2 separate regions of the Homo sapiens genome follow, and region 2 is linked to region 1. The links are contacts of gene promoters, found by promoter capture Hi-C in blood cells and fetal thymus (Javierre and others, 2016). All regions are on one chromosome and are shown on one strand. The core of a region is centred on a gene start or on the middle of the fragment in contact, and the rest is flanking DNA. Distances in the headings are between cores, read along the strand shown. Region 1 holds the start of RHOT1 (ras homolog family member T1). Region 2 overlaps RAB11FIP4 (RAB11 family interacting protein 4).

The links. Contacts are between HindIII fragments. The CHiCAGO score rates a contact against its expected background, and 5 or more counts as called.
Region 2: a contact is called between a fragment that was not itself captured here and the fragment with the promoter of RHOT1 in region 1, in 1 of 17 cell types (endothelial precursors). The highest score is 7.8, in endothelial precursors.

Annotation. Positions count from the first base shown.
Region 1 is chr17:32,141,048-32,145,481 of GRCh38, reverse strand. It overlaps RHOT1 (ras homolog family member T1), which reads right to left and starts at 2,980. Exons shown (of 20, transcript NM_001033566.3): 1 at 2,753-2,980. The coding sequence starts at 2,789. LOC105371730 (a long non-coding RNA gene) reads left to right here and starts at 2,347. Exons shown (of 2, transcript NR_136413.1): 1 at 2,347-2,457; 2 at 2,769-4,256. RefSeq lists silencers at 2,700-2,759, 2,790-3,019 and an enhancer at 3,480-3,649. The HindIII fragment of the contact is 3,152 bases long and covers 2,445-4,434 here.
Region 2 is chr17:31,437,830-31,442,263 of GRCh38, reverse strand. The region is part of intron 3 of RAB11FIP4 (RAB11 family interacting protein 4); the gene reads right to left. Among named protein-coding and RNA genes, the nearest start is that of RAB11FIP4, 48 kb to the right of the region's middle. The HindIII fragment of the contact is 4,954 bases long and covers 1-4,434 here.

The sequences.
Region 1 (4,434 bases), core at 1,731-4,230:
ATCAGAGTTAGACAAACCAGTTAAAGATCTGCCAGATTCATTTTAAAAGAAGATAACAGTTCCATTTTCTTAAGGAACTTAACTAGTAGAAAACAAATATATCTCAATTTAATTTAAAAAGAAGACTCCATTAAAATGAAAACTATCCTGTTTACTATTATCAATATATATATATATTTTTTGAGACAGAGTCTCACTCTGTCCCCCAGGTTGGAATGCAGTGGTGTGATCTCAGCTCACTGCGACCTCCATCTCCTGGGTGAAAGCCATTCTCCTGCCTTAGCCTCCTGAGTAGCTGGGATTACAGGTGCGTGCTGCCACAGCTGACTAATTATTGTATTGTTAGTAGAGACTGGGTTTCGTCATGTTGGTCAGTTTCCTGGTCTCAAACTCCTGACCTCAGGTGATCTGCCCACTTTGGCCTCCCAAAGTGTTGGGGTTACAGGCATGAGCTACTGTGCCCAGCCATTAAAAATTAATTTTTTCTTTAAGAGACAGTCTTGCTCTGTCACCTGGGCTGAAGTGCAGTGGTGTGATCATGGCTCACTGCAACCTCGATTTTCTGGGTTCAAGCAATTCTCTCATCTCAGCCTCCCCAGTAGCTAGGACTACAGGTGCACACCACCATGCCTAGCTAATAGTGTTGTGGTTTTTTTTTTTTGAGGCGGGGTCTCACTATGTTGCCCAGGCTGGTCTCAAACTCCTGCGTTCAAGCAATCCTCCTGCCTCAGCCTCCCAAAGTGCTGGGATTACAGGAGTGAGCCACTGTGCCCAGCCATTAATATTTAAATTTTTTGTAGAGACAGGATCTCACTACATTGCCCAGGTTGGTCTCAAACTCCTTGGCCTCAAGTGATCCTCCTGCCTCAGCCTCCCAGAGTGCTTGGAATACAGGTATAAGCCACCTCACCCAGCTGTGTGGGAGCATTATTAAAGGTTTTTTTTCAGACAGAGTCTTGCTCTGCTGCCCAGGCTGGCATGTCTCAGCTCACTGCAACCTCCTCCTCCAGGGTTCAAGTGATTCTCCTGCTTCAGCCTCCAGAGTAGCTGGGACTACAGGTGTGTGCCACCACACCCGGCTAATTTTCGTATTTTTAGTAGAGACGGGGTTTCACCATGTTGGCCAGGCTCGTCTCGAACTCCTGACCTCAAGTGATCTGCCTGCCTTGGCCTCCCAAAGTGCTGGGATTACAGGCATGAGCCACAGTGCCTGTAATCCCAGGCACTGCACTCCAGCCTCGGTGACAGAGCGAGACTCTGTCTCAAAACAACAACAACAACAAACTATTTCATCATATATTTAAGGATCAGTTTTTTAAGCAAGTCGTCTACTCACTTTCCCTACCTTGCTCCAAAAGCATAAGCATGAATTATATGTTAAATAACACCTTCCTGAACCTTGTCAAGGAAGTCCATGAAAAATACAGATTAAGATATAGTTATAAATAAAAATAAAAATTTACAACTGCAAATCAAAAAGTAAACTATGGCTGGCTAAGCTTACTCCTAAATTCTAATTCTAAAGGAAGATTTCTCCAAACAGCAGGTGGATGAAATTTCAATGAACTCAAAGAACACTACAGAAGAGGGTAAAAACGTGTTAACTTTCTTCCTTGGGATTCCATCACGGTGACCCTGAGGGGTTACCAAGAATGAAATAATGGTTTAAAACAGAATGCTTCGAAACAGCAATGGCAGACTATTAACGAATGTATTAACTCTTTAAAACAAACAATCCAGTTATCCCTGGCCCACTTTCTTATTTTAGTCCTAGCAACTGAGTTACATAACTTGCAGAGTGAAATCAAGAAGTCCCCGCTGTTGCGTCCTCATGTCAGTGAACAGAGGGAACTCTCCTTTATTATATTTTCAAAAGGTGAAATGTATGAAATTTCTGGGTGGGGGGAGATATCAAATGTCTGTGTGCCTGTGGTTATTAATAAGTTAACTACGAAGTAACTATGGAATAAATAATGCTTAAAAAGAGGGCAAAGATTACGCTTTAGGGTAACAACAATTGGACCCTCCCCAGATAATTCTAATTCATTGAGCGCTTGCATAACTCGAAGTTGAGTAAAAATTTTTGATGAAATATCTCGAGTACGAGGAGTTAGTCCAATGCAAAGTACAAGTACTGCTAAAAAGGATCCGGCCCTTTCCACTACTCATATCTTAATGTCAATACATAGAGAGAGTGAAGACTGCGAGTGCCAAAAAAATGCAGAAACCTGACCTTGCCCACAAGTCGAATAGTTCTGCACCCCTCCCCCAGCTTCCCCGGGAGCCGGTTCACGCAATCCCTATTGGTCAGTCTGCTTATTCCAGCACCTGCCTGGCAGTGATAAGGGAATCTCCAGAAGACAAGAAGGTCTGAAAGGAGGCGGCCTGGGAAACTGTGAGGCCCAGAAGGACAGGGTTCGAAGAGGAAAAGGAGGAGAGAAGCTTCGGAGGGATGAGGTCGGGCGGTTAGGGCTAATAGGGACATGGCTTGGGAGGACGGCTGGGGAACAGGGAAAGGAGATCTCTGGAGGGCCCAGGTGAGGTGACAGGGTGAGGGCCGCCGGCGGCCAGCCAAAAGAGAAGAGTGAAGGGGCTGGAAGGCCTAGGAACGCGGAGAAAGGCGAGCGGAGCTGTGAGGCGCGAGAAGGGCCGGGGCTGCAAAGGTTGGGGCTGCAGGGGCGACAGGGGCGACAGGGGCTGCAGGGGCAGGGAGGGCAGGGACTCAGGGGCCGGCCAGAGGGTGCGGACTCACGTTCTCCCACCAGCAGGATCCGCACGTCTTTCTTCATGTCGGCGGCTCTCGGGGGCCGGCCTCCGCCCGCACGCACGGAGTGGACTCCTCTCACCAGGAGCACCCACCCCACGGCGCCACCTGCCAGCCTCTTCGGCCGCCGGGGCCCGCCGCGCCGCCCCCTCAGTTGCTTCCCCGCAAGAGAGCCGGGACAGCGCCAGCTCCGCCTCCTCCGGCCCAGCGGGCTGTGGCGGCGGCGGCGGCGGCGGCGGCGGCGGCGGCGGCGGCGGCGGCGGCGGGGACGACGGCACGCGGCGAGGGACACGCGCTTTCGGAACGCGAACGCGCTCTGCGCCGGAACAGCGCTCCCGCTGTCAGGCCGCCGCAGCGCAGGCCCAGGGAGCCTCGCCCACCCTCCTTTGGGCACCGCGACCCCGGAGACACTTGGGCCAGGAATTTGAATGGCGGATTCCCTGGTTTAACCCCGTTTATTTTATAGATAGGGACAGAAATTCCCTGTTCAAAGTCACATAGCTAGAGCTTGGCAGTGACTCAGAGCAGGGATCTTCTCACCAGACCATAAACTCCGGGAGGGCAGCGATCAGCTTGCATGGTTTTCAGCTGCGTCCCCACGTTATTGGATAGGGCCGTCAGAAAATGCTTGATCGAGTAGGGCGACTGGCTCCCAGGATCCGGCGCTTTCCACTCCCCAAAGCCCGTCACCCTAGTTGCTTTTGCCTCTGATGCTTATAAAATACGATTATAAGATTCGTTTTTACGCTGTGTGAACAAGACTCCTTTCTTTATAACCAAACTAAGTGACTTTTTTTCTGTCTATGTAGTTTATTTTATGGCAGGGTTTTCGGACACTCTTCTTTACTCAGGCTTACCCAGCGTAATGCTAGACACGGAGGTGGCACTCGATAATAAACTCTAGATGATTTTTCTAACATTGCCTTAATTTTCTCGTGACCCTCTCCATCTGGAGGAATTTGTTGTTACATGCTTAATGTTTGGTACACAATGGCAAATATATATATATACATACGCGTGCGAATATATATCACATCCCTAATACTTGGCACACAGTGGGAAATATAAAATACATAAATTAATGAGGAAGCACTATCTGTGCATAATGTACATTTTTTCTATCTTAAATATTACACAATAAACACTTAAAGGGAATGAAATGTGCGTAATACCAACTTCCCTTTCTCCTAGGAGAAGTCATGTGGTCTCTTGCAGCAGTTAAGAGTTGCTGGCAAATTTCCTGGGTTTGAATCTAGGCTCCACATAATAGCTCTGTGATCTCGACTAAGTGCTTTTATTTTTACTTCCCTCAGCCACTGTTCCTTCTTCTGTAGCATGGAAATAATGATGATAATACCTTCCTCTTGAGATGGTTGTGAGTAATAAATACTATAATACTTGTCAAGCATTTGGTACAGTGCCAGACTCAGAGCGTGTGCTCTACTGATCTCAGCTATCATTATTATATTAAAAAGTCACTAAAAAGTTGTAATCCACAGATTTTTTGTTTTGTTTTGGTTTTGTTTTGAGACGGAGTCTCGCTCTGTCGCCCAGGCTGGAGTGCAGTGGCGCAATCTCGGCTCACTGCAAGCTCCGCCTCCTGGGTTCACGCCATTCTCCTGCCTCAGCCTCCCGAGTAGCTGGGACTACAGGCGTCCGCCACCACGCCC
Region 2 (4,434 bases), core at 912-3,411, 700 kb after region 1:
ACTTTGGGAGGCCGAGGCAGGTGGATCACGAGGTCAGGAGATCGAGACCATCCTGGCTAACAGAGTGAAACCCTGTCTCTACTAAAAATACAAAAAAATTAGCCAGGCGTGGTGGCGGGCACCTGTAGTCCCAGCTACTTGGGAGGCTGAGGCAGGAGAATGGCGTGAACCCAGGAGGCGGAGCTTGCGGTGAGCCGAGATTGCACCACTGCACTCCAGCCTGGGCGACAGAGTGAGACTCCGTCTCAAAAAAAAAAAAAGTGTATATACGCCCAACAATAAGAAACTGGTATATAAATTTGGTTGTCTTCATGTGATGAAATATCATGTTGCCATTTAAAATTTAAAATGGCAGCATGGCTACCTTGTTATATAGAATTAAGCATGATAGAAAATAGCATATAAATAAACTATTAAATATAAAGAGAGTTTAATGGGCCAGGCATGGTGGCTCACACCTCTAATCCTAGCACCTTGGGAAGCCAAAGCAGGCAGATCACCTGAGGTCAGGAGTTCGAGGCCAGCCTGGCCAACATAGTGAAACCCCGTCTCTACTAAAAATACAAAAATTAGCCAGGCATGGTCGTGGGCGCCTGTAATCTCAGCTACTCGAGAGGCTGAGGCAGGAGAATTGCTTGAACCCGGGAGGCAGAGATTGCAGTGAGCCGAGATCACACTGCTGCACTCCAGCCTGGGCAATAAGAGCAAGACCCTGTTTCAATAAATAAATAAATAAATAAATAAAATAAGGAGAGTTTAATAGGGTTATCATGACAAGATTAACACCAAAAATGAAAACCTATCCTATACATCAGTTGTAACCAGTTATAAAATATCATAGCAAAAAGATCCTACACATATCAGCACAAAAACTCCAAATATAGTCACCCTAAGAAGAAAGTGTGCATAACCTATTTAAGAAAATTATAAAACTTTCCGGCCAGATGCGGTGGCTCACACCTGTAATCCCAGCACTTTGGGAGGCCGAAGCAGGAGGATCACCTGAGGTCAGGAGTTTGAGACCAGCCTGGCCAACGTAGTAGAACCCCATCTCTACTGAAAATACAAAAAATTAGCCGGGCATGGTGGTGGGCACCTGTAGTCCCACCTACTAGGGAGGCTGAGGCAGGGGAATCGCTTGGACCTGGGAGGCAGAGGTTGCAGTGAGCAGAGATCCAGCCACTGCACTCCAGCCTGGGCAATAACAGCAAAACTCCATCTCAAAAAACCCAAAAAACCAAAAAAGAAAAACAACAGAAAACTTTCCTAGAGGGCATAAAAGGCCAGAATAAATGAAAAGATATATGCATTCCTGGATGACAGAATGCAATATTGTAAAGAAGCCAATTTCCTTCAATTAATGCACAAATTTAATTTCAAATATGATCTCCTACAGGATTTGCAATAGAGCTTGACAAAAAGGCTGTTCCAGAAAAGAAAATATGTAAGAATAACAAAAAAACAGTTTTTTTTATTTGTTTTTGTGTGTGTGTGTATGACAGAGTCTCACTTTGTCGCCAAGGCTTAAGCGCAATGGCGTGATCTCAGCTCACTGCAACCTCCGCCTCCCGGGTTCAAGTGATTCTCCTGCCTCAGCCTCCCAAGTAGCTGGGATTACAGACATGTGCCACCATGCCTGGTTAATTTTTGTATTTTTAGTAGAGATGGGGTTTCACCATGTTGGTCAGGCTGGTCTTGAACTCCTGACCTCGGGTGATCCACCTGCCTTGGCCTCCCAAAGTGCTGGGATTACAGGCATGAGCCACCGCACCTGGCCTTAAAGGTTAAAGAAACAAAGAAGGATGAGAGAGCCTTTCCCTATCAGATATCAAACTATAAACAAGAGTAACTGAAACTATGGTTTTGGCTTAAAAGTAGGTAGACAAACAGATCAATATAACAGACCAGAGTCCAGAAAGAGACCTACGTATATAAGGTAAGTTAGCATACAATAAAGATAAAATTTCAAATCAATTGAGAAAGAGGGACTATTCAACATTAGGAACTCAAAGTACTGGCCATATTGAGGAAGTAAGAGTGCCAGATCTCTACTCCCACCAAAAGCAAAAATAAGCTCCAGGTGGATAAAAGAGCTAAGCATAAATACTTCTTTTTCTCAAAAGTATCTGAAAACTATATATAGGAGAATATGTTTATAGCCTGGAGGTACAGAAGGCACAAAATGATACACAAAATGCAAATGGCATAAAAAGGTTGATAAATGATGACATCAGAATTAACATTCTGTGTAATAAAACACTCCTAAAACAAGATTAAAACACAAGCAAAATCCATAAAGATTGATAATCAGGATATATAGAGATTTCAACCTGTTGCTGTGGCTCACACCTGTAATCTCAGCACTTTGGGAGGCCGAGGTGGGCAGATCACCTGAGCACAGGAGTTCAAGACCAGCCTGAGCAACATGCAAAACCCTGTCTCTACCAAAAACAAAACAAACAAACAAACAAACAAAAAAACAAAAATTAGCTGGATGTGGTGGCGTGTGCCTGTGGTACCAGCTAATTGCGGGGCCGAGGCAGGTGGATCGCTTGAGCCCGGGAGGCAGAGGTTGCAGTGAGCTGAGATTGAGCCACTGCACTCCAGCCTGGGCAGTAGAGCGAGACTGCCTCAAAAAACAAACAAGCAAAAAACAGAATATACAGAGATTTCTTATAAATCAATAAGGAAAAGACAAACAACCATATCGAAAATGGGCAAAGAATATGAATAGCTAATTCGTAAAAGCAGAAATCCAGAGGGTATGGGAAGATAAGAAAAAGATGGTCCGCCTCCCTAGGAAGCTGGGCAGCACAGAGGACGGCAGCAATGGGCTTTCCTCCCCTCAGGCTGCTAGGCCGGAGACCAGCAGGTGGATGGATGGCTTCCGGGGTTGGCGAAGGCCATGGGGAAAGGGGCAATCTCATATAGTGCTTGGGTGATACAAATGGTACAGGCTTTGTGGAAGAAAATTTCATCCGTATCTGTTAAAAAACAAAATCTACATACCCTTTGACACAGCAATTCTGCTTCCAGATACCTAGTTCTAGAAATACTTAGAGACACACCCAAGGAGCATGGATAACGATGCTTGCTGTGGGTGCTGTCCTGGGGGTGAAAAGGAGGAGCTCAGCCTGAGCCCTGAAGCCACTGGGTGGACATGGGGCTGGCTGTCATGAAGGGTGAGGTTCAGGCAGTGGTAGAGGGTGAAGGGCCCCCAGGAAGCTCAGTGCAGGTCCTTCTCCTTTGGGCTGGGGCAGAAGGAGTCAGGGAGGCTTCCTGGAGGAGGCGGTACCTAAGTAAAAATTTTTTTTTTAAGAGAAGCAGTCTCACTATATTGTCCAGGCTGGTCTCAAACTCCTGGGCTCAAGTAATCCTCCCACCTCAGCCTCCCAAAGTGCTGGGATTACAGGCATGAGCCACCACTCCCGGCAAGTAAGTCTTAAAAAGGTGAGTAGACGTTAGCTCCTGACAAGGAAGCGGGAGGGAGGACATCCTAGGAGAAAGATAACACTCAGAGGCAAGAGAGAACATGGCTTTCTCAGGAAACGGGGAGCGGTTTGGTATCGCCAGTTTTAGGTGTGAGATGCACCATGGTGAGAGATGAGGCTAGAGTAGTGGGTAGGAGCTGATGTTGGTTTTCATCCCTTGGTAAGGACGGGTCCCAGGAGCGGGATGGGGGTGTGGAGAGAGGAAGGCTGAGGACAGGAGGACGCCCGGTCAGTGGGTGGCAGTGGCTGTGATGGAAGGGGGAGGCAGGGGTGAGTGGGGAACAGAGGACTCAAGGCAGCTGCATGAGGAGGCGCTGAGGATGACTCTCTGGGTTGGAGGCTACTGACACCATTTGCTGGCGTGGTGGCTACACAGGAGGGGCAGGTGGCTGGATGCCCTCTCCATTTCATCCACCATAGGGTGGATGAACAGGGCCCAGGGCCTTACAGCACTTGTAGGATTAGGGTTCACATTACTGCCTGCTGAGGGGTGACCACGGGCCCCTAGCAACTATCCCATTGCCTTTAGCACCCGAGTGTCGGGCTCTCCACGTGTCTCCATGCCCCCTCCCCACGGGGGCCCCTATAGCATATGGACTGGGGGCTGATGGGCAGCCTGAGCAGGACAGTCTCAGAGGGACTCCCAGGGCGATTCCAGGGACCCCATGCATGGACCCAGGGAACCTGGGGAGTCCTTCAGGACACACCTAACATTCCCTTTGACCAGAAGCAAATTTCCCTGGGTCAGGAAACTCTCTCAACAGCCTGCTCAACAGTTGGGGTTCCCAAGCCTCAAAGTTTCCCTCTGCCAGGGTCTCGCAGGGCTCTGGGGACGCAGGTGGAGCCACATCCAGTAAGGTCAGGAACTGGTGCATCCAGGCATCAACTGCCCGGGATAGACTTGCACTGGCCTGAGGTCTGGACAGCAACCCCAGGGGCCCCT